Regions from separate parts of the Homo sapiens genome. Here region 1 is linked to region 2. The links are contacts of gene promoters, found by promoter capture Hi-C in human tissues and cell types (Jung and others, 2019). All regions are on one chromosome and are shown on one strand. The core of a region is centred on a gene start or on the middle of the fragment in contact, and the rest is flanking DNA. Distances in the headings are between cores, read along the strand shown.

Region 1 (2,700 bases), core at 132-2,631, 340 kb before region 2:
CAGATGACTACCCAGGACCCCAATTCTTTCATCTATTAAATGGAAATCAGGGTAGCAAACCCACAGGAATGTTGTGAAGACTAAGCGTTATACAGAAACCATTTTTAAATTTATTTTTAAGCAAGAGTAACCATCTTTAAAACAAATGTGACAGGTAATCCCAAAATATAAAACGGACCAAGTGGAACTTCAGGAGGACAGACTCTCTGCTTGGCTCTTAGCACATCCCCAGGAAACCTCATCAGAAGTTAGAGCTCATGGGACCATAGTGTCAAAACCACTGAGGCTCAGGCTGTCACGCGCTGAACAGGGAACATAACAGACTTGGAATAGACATGTACTCTCTCTCTTCTGGCTTATCTTCTTTGCATTTAGCTGAGGTTGCTTCATAAACAAGTTCTAGCTCTAAGGGCAGGGAGGGGAGTGGTAGGTGACTTTCCCCCAATATGAAATTGAAGTTCTCATCTTAGAGCTATACAAAGTAAACTAGCATCTGTGTTGGCAGTTCTCTGAGTTTTAAGTTGTGGATATTGTGTTAAAACAGAGATCCAAGTCATTAAACACGAACAGCAGGCATGAAAGAAAATAACTCTTGCACAGTACCGTTTCATATTGTTGTAACCAGAATTATAAAGGTAAAAATGAGTCCCATCTAGGGATAAAGGAAGAATTTTTACTTGACATCAAGAGCATGTGATTGATGCAGGGCCATTTCCCAACAAAAAAGCATCCAGCACAAAATATTATTTCATTATCTTTTCCAGCTTTTTTGAGGTATAATTTACAAATAAAAGTTGTATATATTTAAGATGTACAACATGTTTTGATACACATTGTGAAAGGATTACCAGCTTCAAACTAATTAACATATTCATCACCTCACAGAGTTAATATTTGTTGTATATTATGACAATACCTAAGATCAATATCTTAGCAAATTTCAAGTATTCAATATAGTATTGTTAACAATAGTCACCATGCTGTACATTAGATCTCCAGAACTCATTCAAAAAAATATTATCTATATAAAAATATTATAACAGCTACAAATGCACTATAAAAGGTATGGGTGAGAGTCTATTGTTTGTTTGTTTTTAATTTTCCTTCCATTGTAAGGAGATGGGGAGAGAAAACTGGTTCATTGCACTTTTTGGCAGCTGAACTCTGTTCTCTGATTGGCATGTCTTTGCTTCTCTCCTCCCCAGGCAGAGACCACTCAGCTCTGCCTGAGGCTCATGTCTCTGGCTAAGCTTCCTGGCTTCTGCTTGTCACTCTCAGCCTGAGCATCTCCTCCAGCCCCTTGGCTTCACCACTTCCCCTCAAGGGACCTTGTCCACTATGACTCCCTCGACCTCTAGATAAAACGGTTCAGTTCCACATGCACCAGGGCACTAGATACCCTTTGCATGTCTTTATCTTTCAATTTAGCTGATGGCCCTTGGCTCACATTTAATGGAAACTTTCATTCTGCCAGAGGGGATTGCTTTATCTAGCTTTTTTATACAAAAGTTCAGCCATTGAATCGGCTTGGTAGGTGACCTGTGTGGCCCAGCAAGAGTGTCAGGAAGCCATTTTTTCCTTCTCAGTTCATCAGAAGTGTTCCTTGCACCCCCATATAGAATTGCCCCACAGCACACTGGCAGCTCAACATTTGAAGGTGTTTTCTAGGAATGCAGCAAAATGCCCTAAAATGTCCTCATATGAGGCCAAAACGTCCAACCTGAATAAAAACTCATAAATTTACCTGGAACTATATTGCTGTCTCTGGTCCAGTCTCCATGGGAAGACATCCAATACTTACAACCAACAAATTTATGTAATCTTTTGAGTTTCCAAGTCTAAGAAAAAAAGTGGCACAAAGCCAGGTTTAGGTGAAGTCTAACAATGGGGATCACCCACAAGTTGAATGTTAAGCTGGGGAAAATAACAAGTGCTCATCAATTATTTTCTAAAGTTACTCTGGACAAGACCCAAGAGAATACCATTACTCCAGTCCCTGCAATGCCTTTTATGCCAGCCAAGTGCAAACCTGAACAAACAACCCTTCTCTTGGCAAGGCAGGCAGGTCTTTAAAGGAATCCGACTGCTGCTGACTGCGCCCCAGTCTGCTTTTATCAGAAGATCGAAGGAGCTGGATGGGCAGCCTCGTTCCCAACAGGCTGTTTCCACTGTCTGCTGCAGAGAGCAATGCCCCCTGGGGTTAATACACTGCATAAGAGACAGAGTGAAAACTGACCAGTGACCACCAAGGGGGAAGCTGGGGCCTCCATCAGCCACACCATCTGAGGAGCCCCACATCACATCAGAGAGACTGAGAGACAGAGCCTGGCCAGCGCCTTCAATCGTGTTCCTGGTGCCTGGGAGTCCATTGAGAAGCATCAAGCTGGCCTGAGCTTCTTTTAACCTCAAGAACAAAGACCAGTGTGAGTGGGGATCAGAAAAAGAGTGAAAGGAGAAAGGGACAAATTAGAACAAAATGCCAGGGTGATAAAGGGAACAGAAGCAACATGCACCCAACTGTTTGAAGTCAAGGGCTCCCGAGGAGAAGGCAGGTTCTCCTTCCCTTTGCAAGGTCACTAGTCACAAGCATGCGACCACAGGGTAGCCTCAGGCAGCCCTGAGATCTCCTTTTCCCTCGCAGTTAGGTGAGCATAGGATGTGGCAGCTGACTCAAGCAGAAGCAAGGAGTCTCTGCCAGGG
Region 2 (2,700 bases), core at 53-2,552:
CCCGCAGAGCCCAAGGGCCGCCGAGGCCTCCTCGCCCCTACTCCCTCCTCTACCTTCCCTCACCGGCCGGAAGACGAGGCTCTCCGCCAGGGGGAGCGCGCCGAGGCCCGGGGGTGACCGCCTCGAACATGCTTGCCCCGGGCCCCGGGGACGCTGTTGGTGTTAAAGGGGGCCCACGGGCAATTGCTGCATCCGGGCTAAGAGCTGGGGCTCCGATTCGACTGTTTGAGTAAACGAGTCGGTATCATTAATAATGACAATTGCACAAAAGAAAATAGGAAAGAAACCCCCTTTCCTGGCGCCGAACCAGGCCCGCCTTGGCTCGGAGCCACCGGCTCTTCTGGGTTTTCGGGGCAGCTGGCAAGAGGGAGGCAGGCAGAGGAGGCGGCTCCGGGTCCGACTGCCAAGCTGACCAGGGCGGTGAGCCCGTGACTCCTGGCGGCGGCCCAGACCCGGGTGCTGGCGTGCAGGGGAAGGCGACGGCCGCTGCGCGCTGGTTCCCGGACCCTGCCCAGCGTGGCGTGGAGACCGACGGCCGCACAGGGGTCACCGGTATCCACATGGACACCTCCTAATCGAGCTTTGTTCACCAGAGGGCTAGGCCCTTCTTTCCCTGGCGCTTCTCTTCCCCCCGCGACACAGCTCTTCCCCCTACTCCTTCCCGGGAGAGCGCGCACCCATGCAGTGGCCTCCATCTGGACGCCACGGGGCTCGGAGAGGCGATGACCCCTGGCAGCCCAGGCCGGTATCGAATTAAGTAAAAATTTTGAATGCCCAGGTGGCTGCGCGTAGAGCGGCAGCAGGCCGGGCTGGCGGCGCCCAGGTGCCCAGCGGAGGGCCAGGCGCTCAGAGCGCACAGCCGGCCGCCACCTCGGCCCCTGCCCCCCGCCCCGGGGTACCTCTGGCCTGTCGGGTGGGGTCGGGTCGCTGCGGCCGCGGCGGAACCCGGCTCCGGACCTGGATCACAGCATCCAGCGCGCGGCCGGCGAGGCGCCTCCTGTTACCCTGGGGCCGGCGTCCCTCGTCCCATCGGAGCGAGCGAGGATGCTGCGGTGCCCGGCGACAGGTCGTCGGATAGCATTGACAGCACCTTCCTTTCAAGGTGCTTTATGCCTGCCCTCTCCACGTGCGGAGGGCAGGGTGACCAACGCAAAAACCTGAGCTGCGCCTCCAGACCCGTGCGCCCCTTTGATGGGCATCTGTGGTGTTTATCTGTCCCCCGAAAGCGGTGACCGAGAAGTAAATAAATGGGCGAGAGGTGGTAAAATCCTGGCAGTATTTCCGCTCGTCCTGTCGCGAACTACATATCCCAGGGAGCCCGGGGCGCCGGGACGCGTGTCCACCCCGCCATCCACTTGGAGAAGGCGTTACTGAGCCTGGCCCGACGCACGGGCCAATCCCCTCGCCCTACACCTTGGCTGGAACCTGAGACGGATTCGCTCCCAAATGATGCTCCAGTGGCAGGAGCAACTCAAGTTCATCATTGTCCTGAGAGAGAGGAGCAGCGCGGTTCTCGGCCGGGACAGCAGAACGCCAGGGGACCCTCACCTGGGCGCGCCGGGGCACGGGCTTTGATTGTCCTGGGGTCGCGGAGACCCGCGCGCCTGCCCTGCACGCCGGGCGGCAACCTTTGCAGTCGCGTTGGCTGCTGCGATCGGCCGGCGGGTCCCTGCCGAAGGCTCGGCTGCTTCTGTCCACCTCTTACACTTCTTCATTTATCGGTGGATCATTTCGAGAGTCCGTCTTGTAAATGTTTGGCACTTTGCTACTTTATTGCTTCTTTCTGGCGACAGTTCCAGCACTCGCCGAGACCGGCGGAGAAAGGCAGCTGAGCCCGGAGAAGAGCGAAATATGGGGACCCGGGCTAAAAGCAGACGTCGTCCTTCCCGCCCGCTATTTCTATATTCAGGCAGTGGATACATCAGGGAATAAGTAAGTCGAGAAACGGCTCCTTACCTATTTTGGATGGCGGTTAAATCTGTTTCTCCCTTTAAGATTTTTCTTTCCAAGAACTCGTTTCTCCACAGCAGTTTATATTCCAGGATATTTGGTTACCCATTTTTCTCTGTAGCTGTAGAAATTGTTCCGAATTATAATATATGCAATATAATGTATTGTATATAACATATAAAATAATCTCCTAGCAATTTTGATTCAGATTCCCACATTATCAGGGCAAGACAAAGTCCCTCCACTTTGCTGGAAATACTGTTTCTAACTACTTTTCGCATAAGCTATTATAAGGGATTTAAACCTAGTTGTTAGAGACTTGATGGGCTTCATCTTTCTCTGGTGCGGCCCTCAATTTTCAAGGAGACATCTGCAGGTAAGCATGTTTTGAAACTGAAAAAGAAAAATGAAGTACTATTTGAAACTTCAGAGTTCGGAAGGAAAGTATCGAAGTATTAATCTCCTATATGATTGTAACAAATATTTTGTTCCAATGAATTTAATACTTTAACATCATACTTAAAACTTATTTTTATAATTCCTATACTTCTGAAATGATTGTCTCTATTATTGGTGGATGCTGACTGTGTGTATTTCATACAGAAAAAAATACTGGAATAAAAGGTTGTCAAGTAAAAGGCAGGTTGTAAATTTTGTTATTTGGCAAAAGATGATACACTACCTACTACTTTGCTTTTGCCCATGGCTGAGCGTGAGTTTTTTTTTTTTAAGACAGGGTTTCACTTCCTA

Evidence for each region. The method cuts DNA at HindIII sites, captures the fragments that hold promoters and counts their contacts. A contact is called where the count stands out against the background at its distance.
Region 1: a fragment that was not itself captured here is called in contact with the fragment with the promoter of BIVM in region 2 in 1 of the 25 tissues and cell types used here (lymphoblastoid cells).

The regions. Positions count from the first base shown.
Region 1 is chr13:103,133,061-103,135,760 of GRCh38, reverse strand. No RefSeq gene overlaps it. Among named protein-coding and RNA genes, the nearest start is that of SLC10A2, 68 kb to the right of the region's middle. RefSeq lists an enhancer at 1,386-1,445. The HindIII fragment of the contact is 6,276 bases long and covers 1-2,700 here.
Region 2 is chr13:102,797,721-102,800,420 of GRCh38, reverse strand. It overlaps BIVM (basic, immunoglobulin-like variable motif containing), which reads right to left and starts at 1,302. Exons shown (of 11, transcript NM_017693.4): 1 at 900-1,302. POGLUT2 (protein O-glucosyltransferase 2) reads left to right here and starts at 1,445. Exons shown (of 10, transcript NM_024089.3): 1 at 1,445-1,932. The coding sequence starts at 1,751. RefSeq lists silencers at 1-105, 136-185, 746-1,015 and an enhancer at 1,076-1,295. The HindIII fragment of the contact is 13,413 bases long and covers 1-2,700 here.